Linked DNA regions of Homo sapiens: regions 2 and 3 are each linked to region 1. The links are contacts of gene promoters, found by promoter capture Hi-C in blood cells and fetal thymus (Javierre and others, 2016). All regions are on one chromosome and are shown on one strand. Each heading gives the region's core, a stretch centred on a gene start or on the middle of the fragment in contact. The rest is flanking DNA. Distances are from core to core; before and after follow the strand shown.

What was found. Contacts are between HindIII fragments. The CHiCAGO score rates a contact against its expected background, and 5 or more counts as called.
Region 2: a contact is called between a fragment that was not itself captured here and the fragment with the promoter of ST3GAL6-AS1 in region 1, in 1 of 17 cell types (neutrophils). The highest score is 8.2, in neutrophils.
Region 3: a fragment that was not itself captured here is called in contact with the fragment with the promoter of ST3GAL6-AS1 in region 1 in 1 of 17 cell types (neutrophils); the score reaches 5.9 in neutrophils.

The regions. Positions count from the first base shown.
Region 1 is chr3:98,731,401-98,736,286 of GRCh38, reverse strand. ST3GAL6-AS1 (ST3GAL6 antisense RNA 1) reads left to right here and starts at 3,636. Exons shown (of 5, transcript NR_046683.1): 1 at 3,636-3,861. It also overlaps a transcript of ST3GAL6 not described here. RefSeq lists enhancers at 2,674-3,421, 3,422-4,170. The HindIII fragment of the contact is 17,493 bases long and covers 1-4,886 here.
Region 2 is chr3:98,516,072-98,520,957 of GRCh38, reverse strand. CLDND1 (claudin domain containing 1) reads left to right here. Exons shown (of 5, transcript NM_001040181.2): 3 at 1,963-2,073; 4 at 3,769-3,906; 5 at 4,079-4,886. The coding sequence ends at 4,299. Among named protein-coding and RNA genes, the nearest start is that of CLDND1-AS1, 4.1 kb to the left of the region's middle. The HindIII fragment of the contact is 4,507 bases long and covers 1-3,864 here.
Region 3 is chr3:98,575,718-98,580,603 of GRCh38, reverse strand. CPOX (coproporphyrinogen oxidase) reads left to right here. Exons shown (of 7, transcript NM_000097.7): 7 at 1-1,158. Among named protein-coding and RNA genes, the nearest start is that of CPOX, 15 kb to the left of the region's middle. The HindIII fragment of the contact is 1,823 bases long and covers 1,954-3,776 here.

The sequences.
Region 1 (4,886 bases), core at 2,387-4,886:
CATATAAGAAGGGGAAAGAGAGAATGGGGGAGAAGATAACTTTTCACTCAGCTTTCCAATGTTTTTAAGAAAATCTCCTAAGGGCTAGGTGCTTTCCTTTCCCTCTATCTCAATGGTGCAGGAAGAGGAAGGCCCCTGGTCAGATACAAAAGTTTGTGGCAGTAAAAAGGTAAACTGGACAATCCTCCTAGATGACCAAAAGCTCTCCAAGAAAAACAAACATGGGCACAAGGAAGAAAACCAGGTCTTACTGATCCTGTTATCTTTTACTTTCATAACCTCACTGCCAGAATCTCAGCACTTCTTAGCCTGATTATACGACAGTCAAGTTCCTGACCAAGTCTGAGACACTGCAGCTGATTCAGTGCTGAGGTGTCACCATCAGGGGAAAGAACTCCAGCTATCCCACAATGGTGAGGGAATTGTGTTTCTGACATCCTGATATGGAATTGTAAATAAAATTTCCTACCAAAACACTATAATATCCAATGTATACATTCTATTCCATGCATCAAGCTCACTCCAAATCAAAATCCATTTTAACCCCTAAGGGTTAAATTGGAAACTGTGATGTGTGATGTGTGCTATTATCCATCACAGTTGGGACAGACAGGAGAGAATGTTTCATTTCAACTGTGAGGGTGGGGATGTAACCCTGGGAAAACCTCTTCCAGGTAACATATAGCTTGAGTAGGAGCTTCAGTGAAAATGTATTCAGAAAGGAAAGAACTTTTGGAATATGCCCATTGAAGACAGCATAAACTCCTAGATTTCGCCAGACCCTGATCACCTAAGTGACACATCAGAGATGTGCAGAAGATAGAAGGTTCCTGGCTGGTGAAAGTCTAAAGCTGTCACAAGGAAGGCAAAGTACGCAGACCACCTATTCAAAAAGCCCAGCCTGGGGATAACTAGAAAGGCATATTCAGACCAAGGTATATATAAATGGAGGATATGCCAGGCAAAGGAGAAAGATATGCACAGGAAATGGAAGAATTTGTGCAGAATGTATACTGCAGAGGATTCCTGGGATGGTGTAGGCAGAGGTAGAGTCAAACCTTTATGTGAGCCACTGCAACTCAACCTAAGGCAATCTTGGTTTTTTAAGCTATAAAATGGGGCTAAAAATTCCTTTCTTGCAGGAGTTTTGTCAGGAAGATTAAATAAAATAGCATATGAGAACACACCAAAAATCAGAGTGGGTGCCAAATAGGAGTTCCATGCTTCCTTCACCTTCTCAATAAGCATCACCTAAAATGCATACTAAACAGATCTCTGGTCACCACTCCTGGATGGAAGCACAATTTCCATGGAAGCCATCTGGCAGTCTGCATGGTTAGCAGATGATGCTTATCAGGGAAATGCGGGAAACATGGCATTACTCACGTCTTCTCCCATAAGGTTCCACATGATGTGGAACACAGAAATGTCTCCAACAGAAGAAAACTGCTGTGAAATCCAGTCGTCTGCCACTGAATGAGAACACCTACGATTTACAATTTCACAGGAGACAGACTAATGTTTTTAAATGGTATGTCTCTTAATGGTATTATTCTGTCAATACTGTCTATTCTTGAGCCTCAAAGGTTTTTTATTATTATTATTGATATAGGGCATAAGAACAAACTATCTCCAACAAATCTACTGAAATGTAGTCAAAATTGCAGTCCCATTTTACTGCACCATGTAAACAACATATGGTGCAATCTGGGACTGAGACATTGTGGAACTATAGTAAAAATACAATTCAAGGAAAGCGACATCACAAGGAATGAAGATCTCCCCTCCCAGTCTACATGACCACAAGAACAGCTTAGGAAACCAGACCAATGCAACACTTTCTAGAAAAATTATCTTCTTATAAGCAAAGTTGCCATTATCCAAAGACCCTCTGTGGAATTTGGCCTTACTCAGAGACAATAAACTAAATAACAGTCTAAGGGCATCGTTTTTCGCAGATCTTGGTATGAAAAGCGTTCTTAGTGAAACAAAAAGGAAGCAACATAAACCAACTTGCAAATGTCAAATCGGCATGCTTTCAAACGGAAAATAACCTGGCAGCCTGAGCAGATGTTCCCAAATATTTAACATCTCCCTGTAAATAAAAAGACAGTTTTATGGTCTGCAGCTAGGTGAGGAAGATTGAGGACCGGAAAGTCAAACATTCGGGCTAGCCTAAAAGAGGTGGCCGCTGGAGACCCGAAGAGTTACGAGGTTCAAAGGTCAGCGTGGACACGAGACCACAGACCACGAGGAGCTTTCAGCAGATCTACAGTTTCCTTAACTATCCACCTACTCACAGCACCCAGCTGGTCCTCGTAAGGCAAATGGGACTTACGACTTTAGACTCGGTGTGATTTCTGATACACTAGCAGTCACCACGTTATTTTCATCCCTACCCCCACACACTGTTTTTAAACATTACCTTTCAACAGCAACCTCTTCTCCCCCTCCTGCTCCTCCCCACTGTCCCCGCCAACCCTCGCTACTGAAAAATCCTAAAAGAAGGTGCTTTGGGTTTGTTTTTGGTTTCTGGGCGTCGCTTTTTATAGGTTTTCTTTTAAGCCAAAATAACAGCACACAAGAAAGAGGCTTGAGATTGCCGGGATCTCCGGAGCCGGCGGCCTCAAAATGACAAGTTGCTTCTCCCTTATCTTGAAAATTAACAGCAGCCCAAACACTGCAATTTACTCACCGTCCTCCTTTCTCCTAAACTGCCTCGGAGCTTGTTTTGTTAGGTCTAGTTCCATTGTGGAGGGAAAAAGGGTTTCTCGAAAAACTTTATACGGTAAGAGACCAGAACCTTCCAGACCCCTCAACCCTCCTCGCGTACAGACCCTTTTACAAGAAAACAATAGTGAACGAGGAGCTGGACACTCCTCTTGGCTTCCCAATTGCACAACCTCGCCGGCGATTCGACAAAAGAGGGTCCCAGAGCAGATTCTCTCGGCCCCCACGGCTCCTGGGCTTACCCGCGAGGCTGCGCGTCCCTCCCGCCCTTCACTGGGGCTCCAGGATCCCCGGGTGCCCTCTCGGCGGTGGCTGCGGCGCACGCCGGCTGGCTCGCGGGTCCCAGCGCCCATGGTCCCTTTACGCCTCCGCACGCCACCTCCTTGGTGCTGGCAGGATATGTGGAGGGGCAAACAGCGCTCCGTGTCCCCACCCCCAACCCTGAGCCTCAGAGGCTGCAAAGCCGGAGGGTCGGGGCAGCACAGACCCCAGGCCGCCCGGACCCCGGCCCAGACCGGTCTTCCCGCACCCCCAATTTCCCTCACCCGGGCAGTGCAAACCCGCAGCGAAGCCGGCCGGCAAGAGTGACCCGCCGAGGCCCAGGAGCGACGACCGCAGAGGCGCACCGGGCTCCGAGACCTGAGGGGCCGCTGCTCCAGCCGGCTGCTGCCTCTCTCGCGGCGCCTGCCACATCGGGCCGCAGAAGCCCGAGGCCGGCAGAAACCAAAGGAAGGTGGCGCGGGCCAGGGGCGGCGCGGGCACGATTCCTTCCCCGCGGATCTGGCGGGGGAGCAGAGGAGGGAGCAGCCCTGCCCGGAGTCTCAGGCTCCCGCCAGCCCCAATCCCGGGCGACTGCGCCGAGCGCCTCCGGAGTCGCGGGAAGCTCCTCCTGCTCCGCGGCTGGCGCCAGTTGCACGGTGGCCGCCCCCAAATTCGAGGAGGAAGGTGCAAAGTGGTGGGAGGCTGCGGGTCTCCCGGAGGGTGAGGCGTTGGGGACCAGGCGGGAGCACAGCCGAACCCCTACCTTTCGGGCGGGGCGGACACCAGCCGCGCGCCCTCGCCGGGCGCCGGGACCGGAAAATCACCGCGAAGGGAGGGACGAGGAAAGGCGGCGGGTGGCTTCAGGACAAGGTAGGAGGATCGATTTCCACAGCCAAGAAGACACTCCCATCCCGCCCTGGTTTGTTTGGAAAGCTGCAGGAGCTAAAGTGAGGGGTGGCCGGGTACTCCCCTTCCCCGCCCGGCTGGCAGGCGGCAGAAGTAAACACTGAGGCTTGTGGCGCCGCGGACTGACTGTGACACAAGGCTCAGCAGAAGGTTTGGTCCCTATCAGAAGGGGAGGAGTGTTCAGAGAGCTCCTGAATTCCGGGGCTCTGCCCTTCAAGGGCAAATGTGTTCGTACTTTTTATCTTTTGAAGGAGATAAATTACTTTAGGGAGAACGAAGGTGGAACGTGCTGTTTGCGTTTTCTTTTCTCTCCATAGGCAAAACCCTACGTTATTAATGTCCTCTTACTTGGATGGCTCTGAATACTTTTTAAAGTGTGTTTGTCAAATAATTCCTTGTCTAGAAACATTCAAGTCATAGCTCCAACCTTTGGGCCCTGAGCAGTGTAATCACGTGCCATCAATTGACCCCAGAGAGAAGACCCACGGACTTGGATGTAATTCAAAGTTGGCAATGTGTCACGAACTGGAACAAAGTCCTTCATCTGTGATGGGCTTTCTGGTATTTGTCCTTTTTTTTTTTTTTTTTTTTGAGACAGAATCTTGCTTTGTCACCCAGGCTGGGGTACAGGGGCATGATCTTGGCTCACTGCAACCTCTGCCTCCCAGGCTCAAGCGACTCTCCTGCCTCAGCCTCCCGAGTAGCTGGGATTACAGGCTGGGATTACCACTCCCAGCTAATTTTTGTATTTTTAGTAGAGATGAGGTTTCATTATGTTGGCCAGGCTGGTTTCGAACTCCTGACCTCAAATGATCCGCTCGCCTCCACCTGCCAAAGTGCTCTGGTATTTGTCTTAATTGTAATAACAGCCCTAGGAGGTATCATTTGTTGTTTTCCCAACCTTACTTTAAAAAAAAAATGGCCGGGCGCCGTGGCTCACACCTGTAATCCCAGCACTTTCGAAGGCCGAGGCGGGCGGATCACGAGGT
Region 2 (4,886 bases), core at 362-2,861, 210 kb after region 1:
GGTACTCATCAATATTGGTTGGATGAGGAACTTTTCTTATCTTGGGAAAGCCTTAATGGCTTTTTTTTTTCTTATTTACTCACTCATTAAAATACTTTTCATTACTCTAACACATGTTATAAAGAAATAGTTGGAAAAGTACATCGAAAGACTTTTAAAAATATTTGGTAACTAGTAAAAGGACTACCATCGAAAATCAACTCAAAAAATTGTCCTTTTATGGGTTAGCTGTATTATAATACATATCTATCATTTGCCCCTGTGTCTTAGAGGATATAATTTGACCAGCTCTACATTTAATCTGTGTAATTATGAGACTGTTTTACAACAATCTTGATGCAGAGTTGGTAGGTTAAGAAATTTGTATTACAGAAGTTAAAAAAAAAAAACCAAAAACTAGATTTTTAGGTTTATTTTACAGGCATTCTTATTTAACACTTAAAGATTTTGATTTCCAGTTATTAAAATGGTAGCTTTAGAACTCTTTGTAAGGAACAACTTTACAGTTTATTTATGACTACTTCTGTTGGCCCCTTAGTGGGGAAGCATTGTATTCAAATCATAGCAGAACAGGCTTGAGTTATGATATATCAAAAGGATGATAATATGTCACTGTATCTGGAAAAAAAGATAATTTGGAAGGAAAGGAGAGAAAGTTGGTTAAAATTCATTGTAAAATGTTCAGTTTGACTTATGAGGTTACAGGAGCACTTGATATTGAAATTGGAGTTGGAATTGGAGTGTTACCATTTAGTCATTCATTAAACAAATAATTTATTGCATGTCTCCATGTTCCAGGGCCTCTTAGCTGGGAGAACATCAGGAAAGAACAAAATCCTTACTCCTGGGGAGCTAGCATTCTAATAAAGGATGACAGGCAGTGAACAGAATATAACAGTATAAACAGAATAAATAATTATTCAGTATGTTAAAAGATGACATGTGCTATGGCAAAATAGAACACAAAAGGGATTTGGAAATATGTGGGAAAAGGAATATTGGTGGCCATAGGTTATGATTTTCAATAGGATACTTAAAGTAGGTCTCATTGAGAAGACACCACTTGAGTAAAGAATGTAGTTAAAGACTAGACAAAAGAGTTGGCCATATGGGTAAATGGGGAGGAAGTCATTTAGGTTGGAAAGGACATCTACTGCAAAGGCTCTATGGCGGGAGCATGCCTGAAATATTCAAGGACCAGTAAGGAAGCCACTGGGCTGGAATGGAGGGAGAGACGGGAAGTTGGGTATGCTGTTAAAGACCTACTTTGGGAGTGGGACTGGGGCAAATCCTGGAGGACTCTAGGCAGAATGAGAACTTTGGTGTTGACTCCAGATACAGTGCTGAGCCCTGATCTGGTCACCCTGGCTGTTGTGAGAACAGAGGCAGCAGACAAAGGTGGAAACTAGAAGACTATGGTTAGGAGGTTATAGAAGTAATTCAGGTTAAGTGATGATTATGACTCACACCAGAATGGTAGCACTGAGCAGCAGCTGGATTCTGGACATAGTTTGAAGGAAGAATTCCTGGGATTTCCTGATGGAGTGTAAATGTACAAGAATTACTCTAAAGTTTCTGGTCTGAGGAACTGGAAGTGTGGATTTGGCATTCCCTGAGATGGGAATATGGTTGATAAAGCACGGTTGCATGAGAAGATCAACATTCCTATTTATTTCAGTCTTTGTTCCCTCCCCTTCTTCCTAGGCTTTCTACATAGCTATTCTGCCATTCATTTTACTGCTTCCACTTTATTTTTCTTCCTTGTGCCTATGTCTTCAGCCTGCCACTGAGAACCAGTGGCATCCATTGGACATCTATGAAACCTGTGTGTCAGTCAGGGCCAGAGAAGTTGCTGACCCCTCTGGAAACATCCTTTACTGTTTTACTTCAGAGAATAATTACTGAAAGAGATTTTTGTTAAATGTTTATAATTAAAACAACAGGCAATTGTTCTTGTTCCAGAGTCATTTGATGTGGTCACAAAATGTGTGAGTTTCACACTAACTGAGCAGTTCATGGAGAAATTTGTTGATCCCGGAAACCACAATAGCGGGATTGATCTCCTTAGGACCTGTGAGTACTTTGATTTCACCAGGACAGTTGGGGGAACAAAGATAATTTTATTTGTCTCTTTTTGGACTATGTTTTTGGAATAAGATGAGTTAGTAGATTGTGCCAACGTGAAATAAAATCTCTAACAGTATCCAGTGAACTCTATTCTGTTGATATTTTAGAAGGTAGATACATGCTTACCAAATTTCAAATGATTTGAAGTTGACAGGGCCAACTACTTCATTGGATGATGGGATCTAGACCTTCAAAAGATGTTATTAATGGGCCCATTTAGTAAAAGGAAATTTAGTTGAGATAACTTATACATTCCTATATTTGAATTAAACACTTTCCACTGCTTGAGTTCAGGTAAGTATATGTGAAAAAAGTTTACTGCAAGCTCTAAATGAGTCAGTGAGTTGTCAGGCCTGTCAAAAGTGTTTATCCAGTCTTAGGTGATAGTAACAAAAGGGTAGATGTCAAAAAAGATGAAAGTATTTATTAGGAACAACCTATTCCCTGATGGTCAGGCAGCCCATGAAATACTGTCTTCAGATTTGAGCCTCAGTTTTCAGGGCTATAGGGACTTGCCCAGAAGAATGACCATGTTGTAAGAGAAAAGGTTGAATAAGAGGTAGGTATTCAGTTTTATAAAGAGAATGTGTAGCAAGCAGTTTATTACTAGGAGAGTTTGAAAGAAAGTAAGTTAGAAAAACACATAAGAAGTTCCAGAAAGCAAAACCAGCACCAAAAGGTGTAAAGTTTAGTCAAGATTGATATGAATGCATTTCTAATAATGAATATTATTGGAAAATGGAATGGCATGTTTTGTGAGGTCATCAGGTTTTCTTCCCATGTTGATGAGAGATTTATGATAATTAAAACTACCTTTAGATTCTCTGCTTTGTGCTTTATATATATTCTTCAACAGCCCTATAAGACAGGTCATTTATAATTACCATTAATTTACTTGTTGTTACTGCCTTTAGATCATATAAAGACCTAGATATTGTTGGTAGGTAGAGTCAGACTGATTTTTGTATCAAATCCTGGCTCTACCACTTACTGTGTTATTTTTACAAGTTATTTATGACTCTTGCCTCAGTTTCCTTAATTACAAAATGGAATTAATAATAATACAGCTGTAGCTATGGGGGATTGGATTCAGGACCCCCTGCTAATTCCAAGGTTGCTAAAGTACCTTATATAAAATGGCATAATATTAGCATATAACCTACACAATCCTCCTGTATACTTTAAATCATCTTTAGATTGCTTATAATACCCAATACAATATAAATGCTATGTAAATAGTTGTTATACTATATATTTGTAAATTTGTATCATTTTTTTTTCTGAATATTTTTAACCCTTGGTTAGTTGAATCTGCGGATGTGAAACCTGCAGATATGGAGGGCTGACTGTACCTACTTTCTAGGGTTGTTGGGAGGATTAATACAGAAAATGTGTAGACAAACATAGCATGGAACATAGTGAACCCTCAGTAATTGCTACTACCTGTTAGTGTCCTTTTACTTTTATCAGGACAAGAGTAGCATCCTTTTGAATAATGTGCTTTAGAAAAGAGGCCTCAATGTTAAAATACTTTCACACTTTTTGAGAAAAGATCTAATTAGAATATGAAAGAAATTGCCATTGCGGGGAAAATGGTCTGAAATCACGGTAACATTTCTTTTCTCTCTTTTTAAAAATCAGATCTTTGGCGTTGCCAGTTCCTTTTACCTTTTGTGAGTTTAGGTTTGATGTGCTTTGGGGCTTTGATCGGACTTTGTGCTTGCATTTGCCGAAGCTTATATCCCACCATTGCCACGGGCATTCTCCATCTCCTTGCAGGTAGGTTTTGTCATCATACTTACCTTTTAGCTTCTTCCTGTCTCTTTAGGGACCAAAGAGTTATAAATCTGAAATGTTCACGTATTAACTGCCCTGTCACATTGCCTGAAAAGCTCTTTACTGTGCTTTTATCCAGCCATGTTTTGTTTTGTTTTCTAAATTTTCCCCCAAGGTCTGTGTACACTGGGCTCAGTAAGTTGTTATGTTGCTGGAATTGAACTACTCCACCAGAAACTAGAGCTCCCTGACAATGTATCCGGTGAATTTGGATGGTCCTTCTGCCTGGCTTGTGTCTCTGCTCCCTTACAGTTCATGGCTTCTGCTCTCTTCATCTGGGCTGCTCACACCAACCGGAAAGAGTACACCTTAATGAAGGCATATCGTGTGGCATGAGCAAGAAACTGCCTGCTTTACAATTGCCATTTTTATTTTTTTAAAATAATACTGATATTTTCCCCACCTCTCAATTGTTTTTAATTTTTATTTGTGGATATACCATTTTATTATGAAAATCTATTTTATTTATACACATTCACCACTAAATACACACTTAATACCACTAAAATTTATGTGGTTTACTTTAAGCGATGCCATCTTTCAAATAAACTAATCTAGGTCTAGACAGAAAGAAATGGATAGAGACTTGACACAAATTTATGAAAGAAAATTGGGAGTAGGAATGTGACCGAAAACAAGTTGTGCTAATGTCTGTTAGACTTTTCAGTAAAACTAAAGTAACTGTATCTGTTCAACTAAAAACTCTATATTAGTTTCTTTGGGAAACCTCTCATCGTCAAAACTTTATGTTCACTTTGCTGTTGTAGATAGCCAGTCAACCAGCAGTATTAGTGCTGTTTTCAAAGATTTAAGCTCTATAAAATTGGGAAATTATCTAAGATCATTTTCCCTAAGCATTGACACATAGCTTCATCTGAGGTGAGATATGGCAGCTGTTTGTATCTGCACTGTGTCTGTCTACA
Region 3 (4,886 bases), core at 1,616-4,115, 150 kb after region 1:
GTGTGGCAGTTACCCGTGCCTTAGTCTTCTCCACTCTGCACCCTACCTCGTGGGCAGATGATAACATGTTTTGGATGCTGTCAGTGATGAATGGTGAGATGGCAGATTGTCAGAGTCAATTGATTAAACCTCATTTATACTTCTAGTGTCATTTTATATGACTAGTTTACAAAATAGGACATTGAGTTTCCAAGTATTGAGATAAGGGAATATAAATAGTATTATATGTATCAGGAAATCTCTCATCTTGTTTTTGTTTCATGTATTTTTTAAAGTTTTCATTTGTGCCACAAAAATCTGTCGTGGAATATATTTTATTTTCATTAATTCAGTGAAGTTGAGACTTCATAGTAATTTTAGAATGCAACTTGAAGGTAAAAATTTTACTTTGTCAATACTGAAGTCTCTGCTGTAATCCTTATATATCTTTCTCCAGAGAACATAATATTGTCAAATAGATACACATTTTTCTAATAGGTATTTAGAAGCACTTGAAATAATCTCTGCATGTGTTACAATTCAGTTATTTCTGTAGTTTGTAAACTCTAAAGTGACATTACTATTATTTTAGAGATGTCTAAGTTGTAATTTTGATTTTTGTGGAACCATTGTTTGTTAATGTTGGGATTCTCTGCACTTTTGAATGTGAAAGCTTATATCCCTGAATTCTGATACTTAAGAGTTTTCTATTTCAGACATCTCTGTGTGGAAGTTGAGACTAAGAATAATCCTAGGGATGTCATGAATTTAGGCAATGTTTCTCATTTGGAAAATGAAATGAGAAATAATTTCCTTCTTTAAAGCAAGTATATATAGTATGAGAAACTTGGAGGCATTTCATACACACGTTTCTTAGGAAAATGGACACATTGAAAATGTCCTCTTTTTTATATTAGAGATTCTGCAGCTCTTTGCTCTTAAGAGCAAATCACAACAGGATTCTTAATGTATGATTTCTTTGTTCATATATTATGAATGTATTATTTTATTTGCTTCGTAATAAAGTTTATAAGGAAGAGCATCTCATACATATCATTATCGTGGAACACGTTGAATGTTTGTGATTCTGTGTGGCCTTTTTGGGGCTGGAAAATGTATGAATTCTTCAACTGTCTTACAAGAGATCTGCTAATAAATTTTATTATTAAATAAGACTAAGAAATATTTATATTTTTTGTTGCCAGGATAATATAGGAAAACGCATATATTTCTTAGTACAGTTGATCCTTGAACAACATTAGGGCTAGGGGCCCCAACTCCTCCTTACTGCATGCAGTTTCAAATCCTTGTATAACTTTTGACTCTCCCAAAACTTAATCACTAATAGCCTCCTGTTGACTGGTAGCCTGACCAATAACATAGTCAATTCGCACATGTTTTATGTTATATGTATTATATACTCTTCTTACAAGCTAAAGAAATGAAAATGTTATTAAGGAAATCGTAAGAAAGAAGATATATTTGCTATTCATTAGGTGGAAGTGAATCATCGTAAAGGTCTTCATCCTCATTGTTTTCATGTTGGGTAGGCTTAGTGGGAGTAGTAAGAGGAAGAGTAGGTCTTGCTCTCTCAAGGGTGGCAGAGGTGGAAGAAAATCTGCGAAGAAGCAAAACTCTTCAAACCTGTGTTGTTCAAGGCTCAGCTATGCTAATGCCATAGTTCCTCATTCCTAGGTATTTTACTCAAGAAAAATACAAGTTTTGTACTCAATTTTCATAGCAGCTTTATTCAATAGTTGAAAATTAGAAACAACCCAAATGGCTAACAGCAGGTGAGCAGATAAACAACTTGTGATATATGCGTATATTAAAATACTAAGCAATGAAAAGGAATAACTATTGCTAATGACAGTAACATGGGTGAACATCAGAAACATTATGCCAAGTGAAAGCCACACATAAAAGTACTTACTATATGACTACATTATAGGAAAACCTAGAAAAAGCAAAGCTTTAATGACAGAAAGCAGATCAATGGATGGCAGGGGTTAGGGGATGCAGATTTGTGAAAGGGGACAAAAGAGTATTTTGAGGTGATTTAAATGTTTTACATCTTGATTGTGATGGTTACTAGACTGTATATACATTTATCAAAATTCACTGAACTTAAAATGGAATTTTATTGTATATGTGAATAATACTTCAATAAATCTAATACTAGGAAAAATATAGGCATATAGGAACAAATGTTCAGATCAACCTCAGTTTAGCTTTTAAAAAATAGAAAATCACTACATAGTGATGATATAATGCTAAAATGCTAGCCTATTTAGTTGTGTTTAAAGCTGTGGCGGGTAAATGAAGATAAAATTTTTCTGTGCATTTGTTTTCAGTTCTTCAATAACCACGTATTTCTACTATGGATTAGACTATGTCTGAAAAGAATTGCATAACTACTGGAAAACAGATTATCCTACTGTTATTCAAAGTGAATTTCTCTTTCAATTTCTTACTGGTGTTAATTCAGTCTACCTGAAGACCACAGTGCACCTCCAGATGGCCTGAACACCTAACTGTCTTATGCATGCAGGTTCATGGTAATAAAGGGTGTCTGGAGGGGAGAAATGTCAATTCTCTGGAGCAAATTTTTAACCACTATTTTCTGTTCATCACTGTACTCTGCTGACCCTCCTAGTCAGCAGAGTATTTGAGATAAGTGCTTCTGCACGCTAAGGAGTACAAGATTTGAAAAGCCAAATGTTTCTTTATGACTTATCCTTCCATGTGTCTTTTGCTGTTACAATATTTAGAGACAGGAATCTTCTGCAGGTTTTTGACTTGCATGTCTGTACATAGGTGAGGATGACTCAAAGGCTCAGCTCATCTTGGACTGCAGGCTGCATTGCCTATGGGTGGCTCAGAGCACGAATTCCATGGAAAAAGGCAAAGGCAGTATGGTGGTTTTCTGTTCTAACCACTGAGGTTATGTAGTGTCACTTTCTTCACATTCCACTGGACTCCTGACAAGTCTGTCATTAAGGACAGTTCCAGATTCGAGTGGTAGGGAATTAGATCCCAGTCATCTTCAAAACCTCCACACAGCCTTCCACACTCAAAACCACGAAATAGATTGGACTCAACCCTCCACATTGCCCTAATTAGTTCCTGTTGAGTCCCCCTTTGAAATGGCTCCTGGTTTCCTTCCTCTGCCCTTTGCCACCACCCTACTTTAGTCTCACATACTTTCTCATCTGAACTTTTGCAATGCTCTCCCTGCCTCTGGGCACTCTGACCTTTCCCTCTCTTCAGAATTATTTTCCTAGGTCCCATTATCACCACCCTGCTGAAATAGTCAAAGAATCTCCTCTCCAGACAGAATTCTAAAGTCAGTCTGACATTCAAGCAATCCACCATTTAACTCCTACCTCGTGTTTCAGGCTTATCTTCTACATTTCTCTGTGCACTTCAGTCTCAGACCATATACTCACCACTCACCACTTTTCCTGAACTTCCCCCAAATTATATCCCCTCTGGCCTTTTCTCAGGCTGCTGCTATCTCTGCTTGGAATGTCTTATGTGCCCGCTCATCCTTCCATGCCCATTTTAAATCTTCTTCAAGAAACCTTCCTTGGAGTCAATCTCTTCTACCCTTTCAACACATTTTACTTTTAGTATTGCTGTCAACATATTCCATTTACAGTCATTCAATCCACATCCCACTTATTACAAAATATTGAAGGTGGATCTTTCCTTATTTATAGTACCTGCTACCTAATGAATGATGTGTTAACCTTTGTTTTCCAACACTGTTTTGCAATATATCGTAGTATCAAGCTTAGTGTTGTTTAGTTGTCTGTATAACTGTCTTATTCCTAGTCTGTGAAAACAGAAGTTCCCAGTATCTCTAAAAGCCCATTTAGAAATTGTTTTCAAGGATGTATTGTATTATCCCTGCCACAAGTATGAATTATGTATTTGAAATCTCACATTTTAAAATTTCATCTTTCTTCCCAAAGAAACACATAACAATCCAATTTCATAATAAACCTAAATTAGCACATTTAAGTTAGTGACGCTTAGACATTTGTAAATGGCTTGACTAAATTCCCTTGTATTGTTACCTGAAATCAAGTCATAAGTTGTACAACATAAAACCTCACTGATATGGTTAGGGTTTGTGTCCCCACCCAAATCTCACCTGGAATTGTAATCCCCCAAATCCCCAGGTGTCAAGGGAGAGACCAGGTGGAGGTAATTGAGTCATGAGGGTAAACCATCCCCGTGCTGTTCTCGTGGTAGTGAGTGAGTTCTCACAGGATCTGATAATTTTATAAGGTGCTCTTCCCTTCTTTGCTCAGCACTTCTCCTTCCTGCTGCCTTGTGAAGAAGGTGCCTTGCTTCCCTTTTGCCTTCTGCCATGATTGTAAGTTTCCTGAGGCCTCCCAGCCATGCTGAACTATGAGTCAATTAAACCTCTTTCCTTTATAAATTATTCAGTCTCGGGCAGTTCTTTATAGCAGTATGAAAACAGAATAATGCACTCACAGACCTGTTTCTACAAGTTGCTTTTTTTTTTTTTTTTTTTTTTTTTGAGGCAGAGTTTCACTCTTGTTGCCCAGGCTGGAGTGCAATGGTGCGATCCTGGCTCACCACAACCTCTGCCTCCTGGGTTCAAGCCATTCTCTTGCCTCAGCCTCCCGAGTAGCTGGGATTACAGGCATGTGCCAGCACGCCCGGCTAATTTTTTTGTATTTATTTAGTAGAGACAAGGTTTCACCATGTTGGCCAGGCTGGTCTTGAAATCCTGACCTCAGGTGGTCCACCTGCCTCGGCCTCCCAAAGTGCTGGGATTACAGGCATGAGCCAGCACACCCGGCTAATTTTTTGTATTTTTTTAGTAGAGACAAGGTTTCACCATGTTGGCCAGGCTGGTCTTGAAATCCTGA